6 separate regions of the Homo sapiens genome follow, and regions 1, 2, 3, 5 and 6 are each linked to region 4. Evidence: promoter capture Hi-C in 16 types of primary human blood cells and fetal thymus (Javierre and others, 2016). All regions are on one chromosome and are shown on one strand. Each heading gives the region's core, a stretch centred on a gene start or on the middle of the fragment in contact. The rest is flanking DNA. Distances are from core to core; before and after follow the strand shown.

What was found. The method cuts DNA at HindIII sites, captures the fragments that hold promoters and counts their contacts. A CHiCAGO score of 5 or more calls a contact.
Region 1: a fragment that was not itself captured here is called in contact with the fragment with the promoter of NUDT7 in region 4 in 2 of 17 cell types (monocytes and M0 macrophages); the score reaches 6.3 in monocytes.
Region 2: a contact is called between a fragment that was not itself captured here and the fragment with the promoter of NUDT7 in region 4, in 2 of 17 cell types (non-activated CD4 T cells and total CD8 T cells). The highest score is 6.7, in non-activated CD4 T cells.
Region 3: a contact is called between a fragment that was not itself captured here and the fragment with the promoter of NUDT7 in region 4, in 2 of 17 cell types (naive CD4 T cells and non-activated CD4 T cells). The highest score is 5.4, in naive CD4 T cells.
Region 5: a contact is called between a fragment that was not itself captured here and the fragment with the promoter of NUDT7 in region 4, in 1 of 17 cell types (naive CD8 T cells). The highest score is 5.3, in naive CD8 T cells.
Region 6: a contact is called between a fragment that was not itself captured here and the fragment with the promoter of NUDT7 in region 4, in 1 of 17 cell types (monocytes). The highest score is 6.8, in monocytes.

The regions. Positions count from the first base shown.
Region 1 is chr16:77,985,782-77,989,488 of GRCh38, forward strand. No RefSeq gene overlaps it. Among named protein-coding and RNA genes, the nearest start is that of CLEC3A, 35 kb to the right of the region's middle. RefSeq lists an enhancer at 441-610. The HindIII fragment of the contact is 7,937 bases long and covers 1-3,707 here.
Region 2 is chr16:78,082,542-78,086,390 of GRCh38, forward strand. No RefSeq gene overlaps it. Among named protein-coding and RNA genes, the nearest start is that of WWOX, 15 kb to the right of the region's middle. The HindIII fragment of the contact is 282 bases long and covers 2,444-2,725 here.
Region 3 is chr16:78,027,802-78,031,308 of GRCh38, forward strand. It overlaps CLEC3A (C-type lectin domain family 3 member A), which reads left to right. Exons shown (of 3, transcript NM_005752.6): 2 at 306-389; 3 at 2,646-3,507. The coding sequence ends at 3,040. Among named protein-coding and RNA genes, the nearest start is that of CLEC3A, 7.0 kb to the left of the region's middle. The HindIII fragment of the contact is 3,146 bases long and covers 238-3,383 here.
Region 4 is chr16:77,719,755-77,723,763 of GRCh38, forward strand. NUDT7 (nudix hydrolase 7) reads left to right here and starts at 2,760. Exons shown (of 4, transcript NM_001105663.3): 1 at 2,760-2,863. The coding sequence starts at 2,829. RefSeq lists an enhancer at 2,598-2,892 and a silencer at 2,606-2,735. The HindIII fragment of the contact is 15,416 bases long and covers 1-4,009 here.
Region 5 is chr16:78,106,991-78,110,597 of GRCh38, forward strand. WWOX (WW domain containing oxidoreductase) reads left to right here. Exons shown (of 9, transcript NM_016373.4): 2 at 1,433-1,497; 3 at 2,788-2,845. Among named protein-coding and RNA genes, the nearest start is that of WWOX, 9.1 kb to the left of the region's middle. The HindIII fragment of the contact is 4,709 bases long and covers 1-3,607 here.
Region 6 is chr16:78,006,345-78,010,118 of GRCh38, forward strand. No RefSeq gene overlaps it. Among named protein-coding and RNA genes, the nearest start is that of CLEC3A, 14 kb to the right of the region's middle. The HindIII fragment of the contact is 7,536 bases long and covers 1-3,774 here.

The DNA.
Region 1 (3,707 bases), core at 642-3,141, 270 kb after region 4:
ACTTATTGTGCAAATGGCAATTTGTTTGTAGAGCCTGCCTTGGTACTGGGCATTTATGTGGGCCGAGTGGCAAAGAGGCTGTAATTGATGAGAAATATCTATCAGGAACAGGCAAAGAGAGACATCTAGGAGAAGTAACTATCATTAGGTCCATCAGTGAGGAAGCCCAGGGTAGGTTCATGGAATGGTCCACTTAACCACTGCATGCATCAAGAGGAAAGATAGAAAATCAATAGGACTGGATTATGGAAATCCATGGATTTCACTTCAAAGGTTCTGGATTTTGTACTAAAAGCAGAATAATTCACTGAGGGATGAATCAAGAGATTGCTAGAGAGTGTCTCAAGTAAGAGAAGACCATGGGAAGTCTTCCCAGAATGAGCTTTACTATTTCACTTGGTTCAGTTGTGGGAGGTGGAACAGATGAAAGTGCCATATTGGAATAACAGTTCTTTGGCCAGTCTCCCAGCATCCACCCATTGTCTATTTAGTCATGAGATAAGGTGCCCATGGAATTGGCATGGATGGGAACAAAAGAACTCCTCTCCATTTCAGGAGTTGTGAGACAAGGAGGGGCTGTGGTTCTGTCTTTCTGGAGATATGGGGCATCGTCTCCATGGAAGTAGAAGCTCCCAGAAAGTAAATCACCATTCATGGGAGTTAAAACTAGTGCAAATGACCCATGCAGCATATTCACAAACACTGACACTCAAAAGATTGGAATCGTTTTCAAAAACGTGCCCGAGCTCAGAGTTGACAGATGCCCATAGAATGGAATTGAATCAAGACCAACCATGGAAATGAAACTAGCATTTGCCGAGGACTTGCTACTTGCCAGGCATTTGACACATACCCTCACTGAATCGCGGCAGTGCCTAGAAAATCAGGCATTATCCTCACTTACAGATAAGGATCCTGGATTTCAGAGAGGTTAGGTGGCCTGCCTATGTACACTCAGTCGGAAAGCAGAAGAGTCCGGTCTAGAACCCAGGGCTCCATGTGACAGAAAGACTCCTCTCAATGGCTGGGACAAGATGGAGGCCAGGCATTCCAACGACCACCTGGCAAAGAAAAAGAACTTTCTCTTCACTAGCTTTAGTGTGAACCAAGGTGCTCTCAGGAAGGCTCCGATTAGCCCATCTTTGGTCACATGCTAGTCTGTAAAACAGTCACTGAAGCAGAGGGATGGCTATTGATTGGCCAGCCCGGGTCACATACCCACACCTGTAGGTTCCAGCAACCTGATTGATAAGCCAATCAGGACCATGTCAAGCTGCAGAAGGATCCTTATAGGAAGTGATGCTGGATGGTTAAACCTATGTCCACTACAGCTACAGTATATGGAATACTCATTGTGTACCAGACACTGTTTGAAGCCCCTGTAGAAATCACCACTGACACCCACCACATATTGTCTTGGTGCACCAGAGTTCACCTGCAGCTATAGACAGTTCCTGGCATGGGGACAGCTTTCCACATCAAGCACCTGCACTGGTCTTTCTACTGTGCCTGCAGGCTTCCTCCAACATCACAGGAGACGAATGCATGGGGGTAACCCAGAGTTACTGTGGTGGGGGGCAGGTCGTAGCTTCAACCAGTGGAAGATGGCAGCCAGTGGATAAATGCCAAGATTTCCCACCTTCTAGTCGCATGATTTGAAGGTGTGTTCCACACAGTAGCTCAAAGGGCCCCTTGGCAGGATGAAATGCAAATTTCCCACAATGGCAACTCAGTCAACAGCATGCCCCTTACTGGCTTTTCTTCCTTCCTTGTCTCATTCTCCCACTCCTGCTCCTGCTTTCTGAGATCACATTCCCAATAAACCATTTCCACCCAAGTCCTTGTCTTGAGGGATACTATTGTGGAACCCAAGTAAAAGCATTTTACATGTCTTAACTTGCCAACTACACCCAGAAAAAACCCTATAAAGTAAGTGATGCTATTTCCATTTAACTGATGACAAAATGAAGCACAGAAAAGTAAAATAAAGTGCCCAAAACTACACAGCTAGCAACTGAGTTTCCAGAATTAGGGCTTAGAAACCAAGCCAAGTTCTCTCTAATGTCCAAGTCACTGAAAACATGCATTACTGCTTAAGCTGGAAAAAATTATTCAACAGCTAAGCTAGTGTCATAATTAAATTGACTTCTGGGACCAGCCCTTCACAGTATTTCAAAAGCCTGAGGGAGTGAGAAGGGATTATTGCTGTTTTCCTGATCCTGGAGAACTCTATCCAAGGCCAACAGGAGAGGACCCAGCAGCAGTGATGAATTAATGGGCTATGCTGGGAAAAAGGGAATCAGACCAGCCCCAAGAATCACAATACATTTGTTCTCTTCATCCTTTGCTAAAACAAACAAAATATCAATTTACTGAGCCCAGGCTGCTGCTCAGGCTGACCGCGGATGTTAAGAGCTGTTCTGCTTGTCTTTGTTTGGAGGCAGAAGTTTAATTATCCCAATGGTCCTTTGAGATTAATCAACTAGCAATGAAGGAAGTCAGTCTATCATTAAATTGCACTTAGATAATTTAATTATTAACTAGATAAATTCAGAGTGTATTTTTAAAACTCCCATTCTTACTCAGGACCTCTCGTTCTCTCTCTCACTCTCCCTCCTAATGTTAATATTATGAAAGAGACTTGATTCAGTTCTACAAATATTACTAAGCCTTGGCTATGTGTATGGCCCTGTTTTGCATGTTGTGAAGAAGTTAAACACAGCCTGGCCACTGCTGGCAAAAAGCCCATGGTTGGGCCGGGTGCAGTGGCTCACTCCTGTAATCCCAGCACTTTGGGAGGCCGAGGCGGGTGGATCACGAGGTCAGGAGATCGAGACCATCCTGGCTAACGCGGTGAAACCCCATCTCTACTAAAAATACAAAAAATTAGCCAGGCGTGGTGGTCGGCGCCTGTAGTCCCAGTTACTCAGGAGGCTGAGGCAGGAGAATGGAGTGAACCCAGGAGGTGGAGGTTGCAGTGAGCTAAGATTGTGCCACTGTACTCCAGCCTGGGCAACAGAGCAAGACTCTGTCTCCCCACCTCCAAAAAAAGTCCATGGTTGAGAAGATGGTGTGAGACAGGGACATCAATCACCAGGAAAAAGCTAGAAGCATAAAGAGAAGAGATGCATGGGGCTTGGGGGCGCAACAGTGGAAGAGGTGGTGTTTGGATAGAGGATAAAGAAGCTCTATGGAATGGAGGTGGGATGGACACTCTTGGTTTTGCCTGCCAAATTTGGCTCATAGTTCTGTGGTCAAAACTAGAGACTCTGAAGACAGATGGCCTGGGTTTGAATCCTGACCAGCTGTATAGTTACTAGCTGGATGACCTTGACCAAGTTATTTGATCTCTGGACCTTTGCTGGCTCCTCTGTAGCAGGGTATGATGATGCTGAAGTGTTATCAGGTTATGGTGTATATTAAATGAGTCAGTAGGTGTAAGATGCTTATGTGAGTGCCTGGTACATAAGCAACTGTAATTGTGATGTGTTTTGTCCATTGCCCCTGATTTTCCTCTGGGGAAAGACCCACCCTTTATATATTGTGTTGGGGTTTCTGTAAATCAACGTGCCTAGCCCTTGCTTACTCAAGTGAGGCTCATGACCCAGGGAAGGTCAAATGAATGTTCTAGTAATTTGAAGTTTAAGAAGAGAGATGCAAACACAGACAAATAGGGTAGAGCTCATTCATTCTAAAGACAACGTCCT
Region 2 (3,849 bases), core at 1,335-3,834, 360 kb after region 4:
GGATTAGGACAAATACCTAATGCATGCGGAGCTTAAAACCTAGATGATGGGATGATAGGTGCAGCAAACCACCATGGCACATGTATACCTATGTAATAAACCTGCACATTCTGCATATATATCCCAGAAATTAAAATAAAAAACATTAGAGTGATGTTAGACCTCACACCAGATCTTGATATTTAATGCATAATTAATGAATTACAGATATTTGTATATAATTTTGTTTTTAATAGTTTAGTAATTATATTTCAATGTACTTGTCTTTGTAACTGTGTGTTTTACATTATGCAATTAAGGACATCCTTTTGAGAAAGAAACCATAAATGTTACCAGCTGCCAAATAGGTCTATAACACACATATATACAAAAGTAGAGAGTGCAGAAGGATGAATAGGAATTATCCATTAAAAGGAAAAAAGAAATGGCATTACAGGCAGAGGCAAGAAGCAGGCAACTGTGTATGTATACTTGTGTATTACTAAGAGTTTCAAGTCCAAAAAGGGGAAGGACGTAAATGAAGCCATAAACATAATAGGGACCAGTTCATAAAACATTAGGCTAAAGAACCTGACCTCGATACCATGTGGTAGTAAAGGCTGGGATAGGAGATCCAAAAAAATTTGATTTATGTATTTATTTAATAATTATTTCTTTTAGAATACATAATTCATGTACAAATACAAACTTTAAAGTGAATATGGCAGAATGCTTCCTTTTGTTACTTGCTGCGGCTACTCTGGAATGTTTTGCAATCCAGAAGCCACCACGGGTTTCTTTACATTCTCAAGAAAACATTTTTATGTAAGGGAATGGCTGTTCAGATTTGCATTTTAAGTAGTTTACTCTGATCAAGTTGCCAAGTGAGACAAGGCTTTATGGAGAAGCTGCTGGTGAGGGTGAGAAGCAAGGCTAGGAATATGAGGGGGAGAATGTTATTCTTTACTTTCTAAAGGAGTGAACCACAAAGCTGTTTGCAGATTCCACACATGCAGAGAAAACACAATTCATTTGGTTGGTAAGTTCAGATTTCTTGTGCCAAACATGGGAAGCAGTACAGCGAGGTGATTAAAAATACTGCACAGGCCAGTGAGGTGGCTTATCCCTGTAATCCTAACACTTTGGGAGGCTGAGGCAGGACAATTACTTGAGGCCAGGAGTTCAAGACCAGCCTGGCCAACAAGGTAAGACTCTGTCTCTACAAAAAATTTAAAAATTAGCCAGGTGTGGTGGTGTACTCCTGTAGTCCCAGTTACTCAGGAGACCGAGGCAGGAGGATAGCTTGAGCCCAGGAGTTTGAGGCTGCAGTGAGCTGTTTTTGTGCCAGTGTACTCCAGCTTGGGCAACAGTGTGAGATCCTGTCTCCAAAAACAAACAAACAAACAAACAAAACCCCAAAAAACAAACAAACCCCCAAAAATGCAGACTTGCAGACTTTAGAATTGAGAGAATTTGGATTGAGTCTCTGCTTTACCATTTGCTAAGTCTTTGCTATTTGCTAAACTAAGCCTCAGTTATTGCTTCTATAGAGCAAGGCTTTTAATACCCACCTCTATCTACTCCTGATGATGGTGTATCTGATAATGCTTGGAAAACGTTCCATACAGTTATGCATATACTTTAAAGTCAGATCTAACATCAGAGTGGTGCCTCATTTTTGAGTCTTAAGGTTCTGCCAGCCCAGCTTTAATCACCAACAACAATGACGATAGCTAACAGGTACTGAGTGCTTACTCTGTGCCTGGTGCTGTGCTGAGTGCTTTGTAGTCATCACTTCCTTTCCTTTTTTCCCTTCACCCACTTTCTGGTACCTTTGCATGTGCATGTCTGTCAAAATCTGGGGTGAATCTTGGGCTCCAGGCCCTGGACTCTTTGGAAGAACTTACTTGCAAGATTATAACAGCAATGGATCAGAGCGGCATCTTCAAAACTTCGGCAGCCAAAATAAGACACTCTAAACAGACAATGAAAGACTTTACAGTATTTCACGCCTGTAATCCCAGCACTTTGGGAGGCTGAGGCGGGTGGATCACTTGACGTCAGGAGTTCGAGACCAGCCTGGCCAAGATGGTGAAAGCCTGTCTCTACTAAAAAAAAAAAAAAAAATTAGCCAGGCATGGTGGCAGGTGTCTGTAATCCTATCTACTCGGGAAGGGGAGGCTGAGGCAGGAGAATCACTTGAACCTGAGAGGCGGAGGTTGCAGTGAGCTGAGATTGCTCCACTGCACTCCAGCCTGGGTGACAGAGCAAGACTCCGTCTCAATTAAAAAAAAAAGACTTTAGACAGAATGGACTTGTTGCTGCAATTTTTGAGTGCTTGGGTCCAACATACCTGCCCCCACGGGAGGGTGATTTTTTTCCCTGCAGACAGGAATGAAGTTGGACTGAAATGCCATTTTACCAATGCCAGCAAGTTAGCCATTATATGCTACGGCTACTTTGAAGCTTGGGGCTTCAGTGAAGTTTCCAGTGAAGTTTCCAAACTTAGAGGCCTAATTTCCAGAAGTCACAGCAATGAATGCACTCACCAAGGGAGAGGGCCTAAGTGTGGCCCAGGAGAAAATGTGCTTTATTACTTAGTCCTGGGGACTTTCATGATAAAACAAAATCAGGCTCTCCCTGTTATGCTTCAGGGAACCCATTTCACAGCCTATCATAGGTGCTAGGTTTACAAGCTACCTAGTTTAATGAATCCCAATCTTTCAGATTTCACGCAATAGAGAAAAGCTTTGGTTTGTTGTTTTTATCGTTATTTGTGCATTGTTTTTAATGAGTTTTATAGCGAGATTATCAACTTTATCAATGTGTCAAGAAAGACCATTTAAAAAAAAAAAACAAAAACACTGGCCTGTCATGGTGGCTCACACCTGTAATCCCAGCACTTTGGGACACCCAGGCAGGAGGATCACTTGAGCTCAGGAGTTCAAGACCAGCCTGGACAACATAGCAAGACCGTGTCTCTATGAAAAATTTAAAAATTAGCCAGATGTGGTGGTGTACTCCTGTAGTTCCAGCTACTCAGACGGCTGAGGTAGGAGGATCGCTTGAGCCCTGGAGGTTGAGGCTGCAGTAAGCCACAGTCATACCAGTGCCCTCCAGCCTGGGTATTATTATTATCCAAAATAATAATAAAAGTAATAAAATAAAAGTGAGAAAACAAATCAATACCCTGCCATCACTATCACCTTCCATAAAAGGTAAAACATTTTAACACCAAAACAGTAGAAAATACTACACATTACCTGAGAACAATTTTTGCCAAGAATCTAATAAAGCTTCTGGTCTTACCTCCAGGTTACAGAAGACATAGAGACAGAGGAGCAATTTAAATAGGGCCATGAGGAAATAATCAGAAGAATCTTTGGCGCACATTCTGTAAGACGGCATGACCTGGAACCTTTAGATGTCATTGTCACAGGGAAAAAGATTTGGGGGGGGGGCAAATCTCTAGAATAAATGAGACCAAAGAGACAAGCGACCAAGTGCAATGCATGGACCTTGAATGAGTTGGTGCTCAGAGGGGGACAAAGCTATAAAAGACATTTTACAAAAAGTGAAGTGTAGAGTTACCATATGACCCAGCAACTCTACTCCTAGCTATGAGAAATGAAAACACATGTCAGCTGAGAGTGGTGGCTCCTCCCTGTCATCTTAGCAGTTTGAGAGGCTGAGGCAGGAGGATTTCTTGAACTCATGAGTTTGAGATCAGCCTGGGCAACATAGGGAGACCTTGTCTCTACCAAAAAAGAATAGAAAAGAAAACACATGCCTACACAAAAATGTGCATAGCTGCATTACTCATAATAACCAAAAAAGTGAAATCAACCTAAAAGTTCATCAAGTGATGAA
Region 3 (3,507 bases), core at 561-3,060, 310 kb after region 4:
TTCAACACCATGCCCAGCTAATTTTTATACTTTTAGTAGAGACAGGGTTTTGCTATGTTGGCCAGGCTGGTCTCGAACTCCTGGCCTCAAGTGGTCCACCCGCCTTGGCCTCCCCAAGTGCTGGGATTACAGGCGTGAGCCACTTCGCCAGCCCCAAGTTATTTTCACGCATTATTTTTTGTATACACTGGGCTCAGGTTCACCAAAACCACTATTGCCTTGGGTCCTACATTCCAAAGCTTGATTTTATTTTAATCATACGCTTTTCATCCACCTACCCCATCCCACCCTAAAATTTTCCCCAGACAAGGATGGAGATCTGAAGACTCAAATTGAAAAGCTCTGGACAGAAGTCAATGCCTTGAAGGAAATTCAAGCCCTGCAGACAGGTAAGGTGCAGACCTTCTCAGTGCCTTGTCCCAAAGGAGACAGGAAAATTTCTGGGTCAATTTCTGGGGGACGTCTTTTTAAAAGAAACATTGACAAATCAATAATGTGGCCAATAAGAGGGCCCCAATGCCGGGAGATGATTGTTTTAGGAAATCAGCTTCATTTACAATCCCATTCTCCTATATATGGGTGGTATAGAAATAAAAATAAGTAGTTCAGGAATAAATTTGAAAAGTCAGTCCATACTTATTCTCTAAAGAGTAGTGAAACAGAATGAAGCCAGTATGAAATGACTAAAATGATTAGCATTTATTGGATGATAGCTAAGTGCCTATCAGGCCACCAGGACTCTCTCGGGCCACACCCAGCCTAAGATGCTGGAAGGACATGGGTTAGAACCGCAGCTTGCCAACAGGGCAGCGCCAGCGTTCCTCCCCACAGTTATGCAGCCACATGCGCTACTGCCCAGGAGCTATTCTCCAAGGGGTGAGGAAGTGAGCCATGTGGGCAGGTTTGGGAACAGCCCTGGTTTACAAGGCTCATCCCCCAAGGAGCTAATATCCTTTGTAGCAATTTCAAAAGCAAGGTGTTGAGGTTCCTCACAAGAGACCTGCCTCATTACAAGTTACTGCCTTCAGGGAAGACTGAAGTTACGGCTTTCCATCAAGTATTTATAACTCCCAGACCAGATGCATGTTACCAACCTGGGGTCATTTTTACCACAAGCAATGTTGCCTAGTAACAAGGGTGACATACTCCCTTTATCAGGCTTCCGGGGGAACAGAATTAGAAAGTTAAAAGACAGTCAAATGCTTATGCAGAAGGTGAGTTTGGTTCATCCTTTACCCACAGTCAGGTACTAGAAATTCTTTATAAACACAAATCCATTAATCCTCCAGCAACTTAAGCTATTATGATCCTAATTTTACAGATGAGGAAAATGAGGCACAAAGAAGGTAAGTAATTTGTTCAAGAGATACACAGCTAGTTAAATGTCAGAGATGAGACCTAAACCCAGGCACTATGGGCTCTGAGGCCTGACTCTCCAGTGCTACGGCCTAAAACTATCTTTATGCTCAGTTTATCCTGAATAATCTAAACAATATTACCAAGGCTCAGTTATCTGCTTAAGAAAATCCCTGTCTCTCCACATGCAAAACTAGAATTTAATTGATTGATTGATTGATTGATTTTTGAGACAGAGTCTTGCACTGTTGCCCGGGCTGGAGTACAATGGCGCAATCTCGGCTCACTGCAACCTCTGCCTCCCAGGTTCGCACGATTCTCCTGCTTCAGCCTCCTGAGTAGCTGGGATTATAGGCACACACCACCACATCCAGCTAATTTTTTGTATTTTTAGTACAGACGGGGTTTCACTATGTTGGCCAGACTGGTCTTGAACTCTTGACCTTGTGATCCACCCGCTTCTGCCTCCCTAAGTGCTGGGATTATAAGTGTGAGCCACCACGCCAAGCATTTTTTTTTTAAACAAATATTTTTAAAAATAAATATTAAATACCATCTAGTTCCAAAACTCCCAAAGAAATCCAACACAGAGTAGCAAGCATGTATATATCAGAACAGCATGAAGTTTAAGGCCATGTCTTGGGATAGGGCAGACCTGCATTTGGGTAGCTGTGATCTCACATGCTGCAAAAATTACTTCATTTAAAAAAATGTGGCTAGGCGCAGTGGCTCACGCCTGTAATCCAAGCACTTTGGGAGGCCGAGGCAGGCGGATCATGAGGTCAGGAGATCGAGACCATCCTGGCTAACACGGTGAAATCCCGTCTCTACTAAAAATACAAAAAATTAGCCGAGTGTGGTGGCAGGCACCTGTAGTCCCAGCTACTCGGGAGCCTGAGACGGGAGAATGGCGTGAATCCGGGAGGCGGAGCTTGCAGTGAGCCGAGATGGCGCCACTGCACTCCAGCCTGGGCGACAGAGCGAGACTCCAACTCAAAAAAAAAAAAAAAAAAATGCTAAGGTGTTACAAGTAACAACTTCTCTAAGCCTAAATATCCTGATATGTAAAAATAGGGGTAATAAAATACAACTTCATGGGGTTGTCAGGATTATGTAACTTAATTTATGTAAAATGCTTAGCATGTTGTCCGGCACATAGAAAATTTTAACTGTTGTCTCATCATTATCATACTTCATTCCACAAATACTTATTGCTATTTGCCAGGTCCAGCCCTAGTCATAATACACTCAAAATGCATCTTAATATGTTACACTTCACATCTTCACAGTCTGTCTCCGAGGCACTAAAGTTCACAAGAAATGCTACCTTGCTTCAGAAGGTTTGAAGCATTTCCATGAGGCCAATGAAGACTGCATTTCCAAAGGAGGAATCCTGGTTATCCCCAGGAACTCCGACGAAATCAACGCCCTCCAAGACTATGGTAAAAGGAGCCTGCCAGGTGTCAATGACTTTTGGCTGGGCATCAATGACATGGTCACGGAAGGCAAGTTTGTTGACGTCAACGGAATCGCTATCTCCTTCCTCAACTGGGACCGTGCACAGCCTAACGGTGGCAAGCGAGAAAACTGTGTCCTGTTCTCCCAATCAGCTCAGGGCAAGTGGAGTGATGAGGCCTGTCGCAGCAGCAAGAGATACATATGCGAGTTCACCATCCCTCAATAGGTCTTTCTCCAATGTGTCCTCCAAGCAAGATTCATCATAACTTATAGGTTCATGATCTCTAAGATCAAGTAAAAATCATAATTTTTACTTATTAAAAAATTGCAACACAAGATCAATGTCCATAGCAATATGATAGCATCAGCCAATTTTGCTAACACATTTCTTTGGGATTTTGCCCTTCCTGGGGTATAGGGGATCAGAAATATTGATCCATGTGCACGCAGATAAAATGGCTTCTGCTAAACAGACTAAAATCTTTCTCTCTAGTCTTTCTCACTTGTACAAACCCAGTTTGTTTTCAAAAAATCACAGTAGCAATGCAACTCATCACTCTAGAAAAGCAAGCTTAGGCTACCTGAAAGATTTTCCCTTGGAAGTTTAGCGTATGTTTGACTAACAAAAATTCCCTACATCAGAGACTCTAGGTGCTATATAATCCAAAAACTTTTCAGCCTGTTGCTCATTCT
Region 4 (4,009 bases), core at 1,510-4,009:
TGTCACAGTGCGTAAGCACTGTGTGTAAATACTGGATATTATGAATATCACAGTGATATTTCATTAACGTAACAGCGTGTAAGCACTGTGTAAACACTGGATATTATGAGTGTCACAGTGATATTTCATTAATTTCACACGGGATATTATAAAAATCACAACGATATTTAACATCATAGTGTGTAAACACTTTGTGTAAACATCGGGTATTATAAATATCACAGCGATGTTTCATCGGTATCACAGTTTGTAAACCTTGGATATTATAAACATCACAGCGATATTTCATTTATATCACGATGTGTAAACACTGGATACTATAAATATCACAGCGATGTTTGCTTAATATCACGGTGTGTAAACACTGTATATTACAAATATCACAGCCATATTTTATTAATATCACGGTGTGTACACACTGGATATTATAAATATCATATTGATATTTCATTGAGGTCATGGTGTGTAAACACTGGATGTTGTAAATATCTGTGATATTTCATTGATGTTATGGTGCATCAACACTTGATATTACAAATATCACAGAGACATTTCATTGATATCACAGTGTGGAAACACTGGGTATTATAAATATCACAGCGATATTATATTAATATCACGGTGTGTAAACATTGTATATTACAAATATCAGCCATATTTTATTAATATCACAGTGTGTAAACACTGGATATTATAAATATCACATCGATATTTCATTGATGTCACGGTGTGTAAACACTGGATGTTGTAAATATCACAGCGATATTTCATTAATATTTCATTTCATTAATAATTTCACAAACTGCCCCACTGACCTAGGGCCAGCCACAATATTACTTTCATGGGCCCTAGCTACTTTGTTTTTGTGCACCCCTTCTTCCATAAAATAATTTTAAAGTGAATATTTTATGACTGAATTCATAAAATGACTATCATCCAAGCTGGATTCATTATTATATATTGCTTTTATTACATACCTTTTCTTCTTCTAATTTAAAAAGAAATTACAATTAAAACATTTTCACAGGTCCCTAAAATTACTGTGTGTGTCCTGTGCCTGTAAGGGAGAAGTCAGCCCTACACTGACCCCTGGATTCTCAGCTCGCACCAGGCTCCCTCACACACACTGTTCTCCAGCCCCTTTCTGCTGTCTTTGCACAAACTTTGCCCTCTTCCTTGAACACTCTCCCTTGCCTTTTTCCTCATTTATGTCCTCTATCCCGCACAGAGCATCAGAATCCCCTTACAGCACAGATCACTGGGCCTGACACCTGGCTTCTGATTCAGCAGTTGTGACATGGGCCCCAAAGTCCACCTTTTCTTTTCTTTTCTTTTCTTTTCGTCTTTTTTCTTTTCTTTTCTTTTCTCTTTTCTTTCTTTCCTTTCTTTCTTTCTTGGTTTTTGTTGTTGTTGTTGTTGTTGTTTTGTTTTGTTTTGTTTTTGAGACAGAGTTTCGCTTTTTTTTGCCCAGGCTGGAGTGCAATGGCGCGATCTCGGCCCACTGCAAACTCCGCCTCCCAGGTTCAAGCGATTCTCCTGCCTCAGCCTCCTAGTAGCTGAGATTACAGGCGCCTGCCACTGGCTAATTTTTGTTTTTTTAGTAGAGATGGGGTTTCACCATGTTGGCCAAGCTGGTCTCAAACTCCTGACCTTAGGTGATCCACCCGACTTGGCCTCCCAAAGTGCTGGGATTACAGGTGTGAGCCACAGCGCCTGGCCCAGAGTCCACATTTTTAACAGGACCAAAGTGATCCTGATTCTGCTGGTCTGAGGACCACACTTTGAGAACTACTGCTTTCAAGATGAGCTGCACTTCTATTTCCTCTACCAAGCCTCTTCTGTCTCCTAATTGGGTCACATTTCTCCTTCACACGCTCTAGAAGGACCAAAGGCCACTGCTTTATCAGTGTGATTTTTTTTTTTTTTTTTTTTTGCATTAAAAACTTCTTATCTTCTTCTTCTTATTTTTGAGACGGTCTACCTCTGTCAGGCTGGAGTGCAGTGGTGCTATCACGGCTCACTGCAGCTTCGACCTCCTGGGCTCAAGCGATCCTCCCACCTCAGCCTCTTGAGTAGCTGGGACCACAGGTGTGTGCCACCACGCCTGGCTAATTTTTTATTTTTATTTTGTAGAGATGGGGTTTCGCCATGTTGCCCAGGCTGGGCTCGAACTCCTGGATTCAAGTGATCCTCCCCTCTTGGCCTCCCAAAGTGTTGGAATTACAAGCATATGCCACTGCATCCAGCCCTGTGTGATTAATTTATGTTTCTACCATTTGACTGTGAGCTCCACGTGTCTTTTCGCTAGCTGTGGGATCTGCACCCAGTGCATACAGGTGGTCGGTGAACAGGTGCTGACAGCAGTTCCAAAAAGTTGAATGAATCACCTTAACCTTCCAGCAACAGCGAATGCGAGTGTAAAATATTATCACCTCACCAACACTGTATTTTTTTTTTTTTTAACTCTTCCAGCTCTAAATTCCACAACTCCTCCTATACCTCTTGCTTCCATAGAAGCCCAAGGAGCCCGGCAGAAACTGCTTTGAGCAACCAGGAACACCCGGCCCTAAGTCCCGCCCCGCGCCTCTCCCCACCTCAAGTCCCGCCTCTGGCTATAAGCCCCGCCCCGCCCCGATCCCGGCCTCCGATCCCAGATCTCGCACCGCCCCGCCCCCTGTCTCCGCCCCAGACACCACCCCGCCTCGTGCTCTAAGCCCCGCCCCTCTCTCTGGCTTTAGGCCGCTCCCAAGCCCAGAGCTGCTCTGCGCAAGCGCGACCGACCGAGCAGCTCCGAGGAGTCCGCCCGGAAACAAACATTCCCCAGGGCAATGTCACGACTTGGTCTTCCCGAGGAGCCAGTCAGGTAAAGGCTTTCCGGGCCCTGGCACCCCGAGCTTGGTCAGGCCCGGCCTTGATCGTAGCGGAGGCCACCGGGGCCTTTTGGCCGGGACTGATTTTGCAGCTCCCGCCAGTCCACCTGCGAGCGCCGGATGGGGGAGCACTCGCCTCCAGCAACCCGCAGGGTCCCCGAACCTTTGCACTGCTCTGGCCAGGAACAGAGCCGGCTTAAGCCAGTATGGTTTACATACACGCTGCTCCCCTTCCCAGCCGGCTTGGCTGTTCTGCAATCCGCGTCTCCAGAGTTGGACCCCAGGACCCCCGACAGTGGCACAGACCCGCAGCAGGCAGCCCCGGATTCAAGTCCCCCGGTGGCTACTTTCAGTTGTGACCTTGGGTCTGTCAGTTTCGTAAACTCTCTGAGCCTGGAGGTGACCCTGTGATCACTTGCCGGGCTGTTGTGAGGATAAAATGAGAAACGTCAAAATTGAGACCATGCTCAGAACGGGGTGGCTGCTACTGCTGTTGATACCTTGGTGATTATTCCAGCGGCCAGCCCCTAAAGTGGACAGATAACGTTTTTGCAGCCTTTTACTTTGGCTGGTTTGTCTGGTCAGTTCTGTGGTTTCCGGGTGGTTAAAAGCCACCAGCCCACAGTTTCCTTTTCTGGAGGCTGGCCTGCGTGCATCCAGATGCACTGTGCAATCCCTGTGCCAGCATTCACTGATTTTTTTCAGGCCATTTGGTCTTTGAAATACACTGCCGTTACCCAACCACATCTGGTGAGCACCCTGCCACCTAGAAAGAGGCAAAAAATAGCAAATACCTCCTGCAAACAACTGCTTATCTAATGATGGGGAGATTTATGACAGTGGTTACCATTCCCTGAGCACCAGCTGTGTGCCAGCCACAGTATATGAACTGCATCATTTAATCTTCTTAAATATCCTCAAGCCTGACACAAATGAAGATGAAACTCAGAGAAGTCATTTGTATACACTTTTTTTTTTTTTTTTTTGAGACAGAGTCTCACTCTGCCGCCCTGGCTACAGTGCAGTAGGCAATCTCGGCTCACTGCAGCCTCTGCCTCCTGGGTTCAAGCGATTCTCCTGCCTCAACCTTCTGAGTAGCTGGGATTACAGGCATGTGCCACGATGCCCGGCTAATTTTT
Region 5 (3,607 bases), core at 349-2,848, 390 kb after region 4:
TCAAACAGACCAGAAGCCAGCAGTTCATGAAAAGACCTTGCTTGCAAGTTGTAGAATTTTTTAGAAAATTCGTGCTCTCTGTATTTATTTTCTGTAAAATAATTGATAGGGAAAGAATGTTCACATCTTATCATCTAGATGTTGCTGATTAAATAATATAACTTTCTGGGTTGGCATGAGTAGGTGAACTTTTAGGAAACGCAGCCTACCCTTCGAATACCTCTTGTAGCACCTGGCTGTTTCCCTTTTGAAATAATTGTATGTTTTCCTGGATACCTTATTACCTGGTGACACGTGTTTCTAGTTATTGACCTATGTTTTTAATTATAACTTTGGGTGGTGGTCTGAAATGAAATGTTAAGTTTGACGCAAAAATAGGACTAGTTTGTGTAACTGATTTGTTCAGAATAACAGCTTACATTTCTCAGAGCTTTTTGTATGCCAAGTGCTATGCGAAACCCTGGATGTACAATATTCTTATAGTAGCCCCTGAGACCAGTGCTAGGATTATTTCCATTTTGCAGATGAGGGGATGGAGATTAAGGAGTGGGGTCACTTGACCAAAGGTGCACAGCGCACAGCTAGATGCCCTATGGGAAGGTCTTACTGCATCTCTTAACTACCTCTTGGGACCAGTTAGGAACCAGTGCTTAATGAAACACTTTGAAGTTACATCTGTGGAAAGAATAAACATTTTAGCTGGGCAAGGTGGCACGGGCTTCTAGTCCCAGCCACTCAAGAGGCTGAAATAGGAGGGTTACTTGAGTCCAGGAGTTCCAGTCCAGCCTGGGCAACATAGTGAGACCCTGATTCTTTAAAAAGAAACACAAATAAATAAACATTTTAAGAGATTATATAAATTAGATATTATGAATTTTGTCCCTACATCGTGGAATAAAACCAAAACAAATACACAGCAAAATGCCTCTAGATTTATTTATTTATTTATTTATTTTTGAGACAGAGTCTTGCTCTGTCGCCAGGCTGGAGTGCAGCGGCGTGATCTCGGCTCACTGCAACTTCTGCTTCCCTGGCTCAAGCGATTCTCCTGCCTCAGCCTCCCGAGTAGCTGGGACTACAGGCACGTGCCACTGTCCCCAGCTAATTTTGTATTTTTGGTAGAGACAGGGTTTCACCATGTTGGCCAGGATGGTCTCCATCTCCTGACCTTGTGATCTGCTCCCCTAGGGCTCCCAAAGTGCTGGGATTACAGGTGTGAGCCACCGCTCCCGACGGCCTCTAGATATTTTGAGTGATTCAGCAAACCTCCTAAAGTTGACCCCGTAGCTGGGGTCACAGTCCTCTTTCTCCTTCTTCCCCCTACTTCCTTCTTATATCTGGCTATCTGGGAGAGAAAAAATTTAATACAATTGATTACTTTTTAGAAGAGTTAATTTTTACTTATTACTGTGGATTTTTTGTTTTTTAACAGTCACACCGAGGAGAAGACTCAGTGGGAACATCCAAAAACTGGAAAAAGAAAACGAGTGGCAGGAGGTTTGTATGTTGTTGTCTAAGGATCTTGGATGGAAGCATTAAGTAGATGAGGAAATGTCACTGGCAGAGAGGTGACAGGTTATTGTGTGTTTAGGGAGGGCTCTCTGGTAGAGAACCAGACTCCCACTCTGAGGAGCTTATGGGATTTGGCAGAAGAAGATGATGAGATCATAGGGTGGAGTGAGGATGATTTCTTACTGGTCTTAAAGTACCAAAATGGCCAGATGTGGTGGCTCATGCCTGTAATCCCAGCACTTCGGGAGGCCGAGGCGGATGGATCACCTGAGGTCAGGAGTTTGAGACTAGCCTGGCCAACATGTTGAAAGCGCATCTCTTCTAAAAATACAAAAATTAGCTGGGCATGGTTGCATGCGCCTGTAATTCCAGCTACTTTGGAGGCTGAGGCACGAGAAGTGCTCAAACCCAGGAGCTGGAGGTTGCAGTGAGCCAAGATCACACCACTGCGCTCCAGCCTCGGTGACAGAGTGAGATGCTGTCTGAAAAATAGCGACAACAACAACAACAAAAACCAGAAAATAATTGAGGCCTTTGATTCACAGTTTATGATGTTTTCCTATCGTTGCAGTGTTTATAAAATTGTTCTTGGCTATACTATGGAATTAAATATATAAGTATTTGGAAATTTCGTAAAGATTACCATGACTTCTAGGTGATTCTGAGATAATGTATGATCCACGGAATAGAAGTATAAGAAAGGGACAGGCACGGTGGCTTGTGCTTGTGATCCCAGCCCTTTGGGAGGCAGAGGTGGGAGGATCACTTGTGCCTGGGAATTCGAGGTGAGCCTAGGCAACATAGTGAGACCCCATCTCAAAAAAAAATATGAGAAGGTTCCTGCCCTTAAGAGGTTTAGGATCCAGCTGAAGAATCAACATGTGCACATGAAAAAAAATGGCCGTGCCCTCTAATGTCATATGAGGTCAGCGTATGAATGACGTTGGGTGCCTGCCCTGCATATACATATGTTCTTTGAGCTCATTCAAGGGAGAATTCCCATGGATTGGCACAACCAGTATGGTTTATAGAGCGATCAGGAATAAAATAGGTTTTCTTCAAAACAAGAGGCAAAAATGTGGAGCCCAGGGTGGGATCAGGGGCCTTCTGCAGCTGTCGCAGTTGGAACATGTGACGAAAGCCAGTTGATGTGACAACTGCTGGGTGGGAGGGACAGGCTTGGGGGCGGGGCTGGGAGGGCTCCTTCCCTTCCTGACCCAGGGATGGTCTTTACTTCTCCCTGGCACCTGTAGACCTGTCTTTCTTGTGTTTCAGATTTGCCATACGGATGGGAACAAGAAACTGATGAGAACGGACAAGTGTTTTTTGTTGAGTAAGTGTCTGCAAAGAAACCACTCTCAGCTGTTTTGCTTTTTAATAGGAATTTTTAATTATAAAAGTAATACATAGTAACTGTAGAAAAATACAAAGTATAACAGTGTGTATCTGTAATCTTAGCAGAAGTGACTACTTTTAACATCGCTGGAACTTTTAACATCGCTAGATTTATTCTTCTATTTTCCCCGCACACGCATCCTTAAAAAAAAAAAGTAGGGAGGCCAGGCATGGTGGCTCATGCCTGTAATCCCAGCACTTTGGGAGGTCGAAGTGGGTGGATCCTGAGGTCAAGAGATCGAGACCATTCTGGCCAACATGGTGAAACTCCGTCTCTACTAAAAATATAAAAATGAGCTGGGTGTGGTGGCACGTGCCTGTGGTCCCTGCTACTCGGGAGGGTAAGGCGGGAGAATCACTTGAACCCAGGAGGCGGAAGTTGCAGTGAGCTGAGATCGCGCCACTGCACTCCAGCCTGGGTGACAGAATGAGACTCCTTCTCAAAAAAAAAAAAAAAAAAAAAAGAGGGAATGCACTGTGTGGACTGTTTAGTAACCTGCTTTTTCCATGTAATATATTATGAGCATTTTCTTGTATCCATATCTATTTTTCAAAAAGATGCTATTTAGCAGCTCTAGAGTTATTATTTTGTACAGATATACTATAATTTATCAAATTGCCTATTGGACATTAATGCTAAATTCCTGTTATAGAGAACCTATAATTATAAATAATGTATTGAGCATCCTTATCTGTAAGA
Region 6 (3,774 bases), core at 281-2,780, 290 kb after region 4:
CATTTGTTCAACATGGTGTTAACTGGATTTCTTTTCTTTTTTTCTTTTTCTTTTTTTTTTTTTTTTGAGATGGAGTCTCTCTCTGTTGCCCAGGCTGGAGTGCAGTGGTGCAATCTTGACTCACTGCAACGTCCACCTCCTGGGTTTAAGCAATTCTTGTGCCTCAGCCTCCTGAGTGGCTTGGATTACAGGTACCCGCCATCATGCTCGGCCAATTTTTGTGTTTTTAGTAGAGACAGGGTTTTACCATGTTGGTTAGGCTGGTCTCAAACTCCTGACCTCAAGCGATCCACCCACCTCAGCTTGTCAAAGTGCTGGGATTACAGGCATGAGCCACCGCCCCGGCCTGATTTTCTTTACAGCAGTACATACAACTAACCGATTCAGATTTGTAGCATGACTGTCAGGATTTTAGAAATGAGTTTTGTATCTATTGTTAGATAACAAACAAGCCTAAAACTCAGAGCCAAAAATACAATCATTTGTTCACAATTTTGGGATCTAATGCTGTGTAACAATTACCCCTAGGCCAAGTGCAGCGTCTCATACCTGTAATCCCAGTGCTTTAGGAGGCTGAGGGGGAAGGATTGCTTGAGGCCAGGAGATCGAGAGCAGCCCGGGTAACATAGGGAGACCACGTTTCTAACAAAAAACTTAAAAAAAAAAAATTAGCCAGGCGTGATGGTGGACACTTGTAGTCCTAGCTACTCTGGAGGCTGCAGGAGGAGGATCGTGTGAGCCCAGCAGCTAAAGGTTGCAGTGAGCTATGATCGCACCACTACACTTCAGCCTGGAAAACAGAATGAGACCGTGTCTCTAAAAAAAAAAAAATTATTCCAAACTTTGGCAACTCAAAATAATGATCAACATCTAGTGTCTTCTAAGGGTCAGGAGTTTGGGAGTGGTTTAGCTGGGTGGTTCTGGCTGAATGTCCGCTGGCTTCCCCCAGGGCAAGCAATCCAAGAGAGACAAGTGGAAGTTGCAATACTTTTTATGACGTTATCTTGGAGGTCACATACTCCCATTTGCACAATATCCTATCCATTACACAGGTCATCCCTGTTCAGTGTAAGAGGAGACTATGTAAGTATGAATGAATATCAAGAAGTAAGGAGCAGTCATTGGGAACCATCTGGAAGTGGGTCACCACCACCTACCCTCTAATGCTGTGTCACACAGGACTCAGGGAAACAAAGCGCATCAGGAGATACACATGTGTGTATACACACACACACACACACACACACTTTATTTTTTAAACTCCATTTTGTTTTTTGAGACAGAGTCCCACTCTGTTGCCCAGACTGGAGTACAGTGGCATGATCTCGGTCAGCTCCCTGCAACCTCCACCTCCCCAGTTCAAGTGATTCTCATGCCTCAGCCTCCAGAGTAGCTGGGATTACAGGTGCACACCACCACACCTACTTTTTTTATGTTTTTAGTAGAGACAGGGTTTCGCCATGTTTCCCAGGCTGGTCTCCAACTCCTTGGCTCAGGCAATCCGCCCGCCTTGACCTCCGAAAGTGCTGGAATTGCAGGTGTGTGCCGAGCACACACACACACACACACACACACTTTAAAGGGTTTATTACAGGGATTTGACCCTGTGTAATTGTGCATACCGGTTAAACAGTCTATAAACTGCTACCTATGAAGCTCTAATGCTGGCACTTGGGGTCCACAGGGCCAGCCATGGAGATGGGCACCTCTCACTGCATCCTGCTTTGGTATCTTGCAAGGAAAGCTGGTGGCTCACCTTAACTGGACACACACAGGGAAGTCTGGGACACAGCTGAGCATCGCCAAGTGACACTTTCCAAAGCCACTGAAGATGTTTACCCTTCGTAGAGTCGTGGCTGGGACAGGCACAAAGACAAGTCGGGAGAGCTGCCAGTCTCCAGCTTGCTTTATAGCCAGGTCTAGAGGCGCATTCCTATTTATGTTATGAAAAATCAGAAAGTGATATGCTTCCAATTTGGAAACGTTTCTGTTTATATTTCAATAAAACGTCTATTTAAAACATTGATATGTTTTATGCAGAAGACTTAGAAAAACAAAGAGAAGGCCAGGCGCAGTGGCTCACGCCTGTAATCCCAGCACTTTGGGAGGCCGAGGCGGGTGGATCACGAGGTCAGGAGATTGAGACCATCCTGGCTAACACGGTGAAACGCCGTCTCTACTAAAAAATTACAAAAAAAAAAATTAGCCGGGCGTGGTGGCGGGCGCCTGTAGTCCCAGCTAATCAGGAGGCTGAGGCAGGAGAATGGCCTGAACCCGGGAGGCGGAGCTTGCAGTGAGCCCAGATCGCGCCACTGTACTCCAGCCTGGGCGACAGAGCGAGACTCCGTCTCAAAAAAAAAAAAAAAAAAAAAAAAAACTACCATCTCATCCTCTCAAAGGAACCACTATTATTTTGACCTATCCCTACCATACAGATACTCATCTGCACACATCCCTCACCCATGGCTCTCTACCGCCTGCATTTTTTTTCTTGAGACGGAGTCTTGCTCTGTGGCCCAGGCTGGAGTGCAATCACGCTATCTCAGCTCACTGCAACCTCTGCCCTCCCAGGTTCAAGCAATTCGCCTGTCTCAGTCTCCAGAGTAGCTGGGACTAACAGGTACACGCCACCATACCCACCTAATTATTTTGTGTTTTTTACTAGAGACGGAGTTTCACCATATTGGTCAGGCTGGTCTCGAAGAATTCCTGCCCTCAGCTGATCCACCCACCTTGGCCTCCCAAAGGGCTGTGATTACAGGCGTGAGCCACCACGCCGAGCCCCTGCATTCTTTTGTATGAACTGCTTTTCCCCTTTGGAAATATTCCATGGGTATTTTCTGTGTTAATCAACGTTCTTTTATAGCAGAATTTTAATGATGGCTTAAAAGTCCAATATATTAATCCCCTTTTAGTAATATCCTTTTAATTTTTGATTAGAAATAATTCTTTTTCTGAGCTGGGCACGGTGGCTCACGCCTGTAATCCCAGCACTTTGGGAGACCGAGGCAGGTGGATCACGAGGTCAGGAGTTCAACACCAGCCTGACCAAGATGGTGAAACCCCGTCTCTACTAAAAAAACATGAAAATTAGCTGGGCGTGGTGGCTGGCACCTGTAATCCCAGCTACTTGGGAGGCTGAGAAAGAGAATCGCTTGAACCCAGGAGGGAGAGTTTGCAGTGAGCTGAGATCATGCCACTGCACTCTAGCCTGGGCAACAAGAGCGAGACTCCATCTCAAAAAAAAGAAATAATTCTTTTTCTGGTTCCTGCTAAACTACCATGAATAAAGCCAGGCCAGAGGCTGTCTTTGCTTCTTTATTTTCAGTAAGGGACACTCAAGGCAAGTACTAGGTTTTTCAACAATAATCCGAGCTATCTGGTATATATTTTGGAGGGTGGCCCAAGTCTCGCTGGGCAGAAATAAATTATAGAAAGAAGCCAGGCATGGTGAATGTGGGTCTTTCAGGGACATCAGCCTGTCTCCTGGACTTGCTGTCTCCACACCTAACTGGCCCGGCTCTGCGAGCGTTTCCTGTCTGGTTTCCATTTGAAGAAACCCTTTAGCGAAAAACAGCATCCAGTGCAAATTGGACAGTCCCTCTGCTGATCAGGGAAAAGCGAACGCTGAAAAAAACTCCTGAGATGAAAACGAGACACTAATAAAACACTGACTCCTAAGCTGTTTACCAGACATTCAAAATGGATGTGCTGGTGGTTTCCTGAAAGGAAAGAATAGTTGTCTCATATTCTGAACCCCGGCAGGCTCTCGCC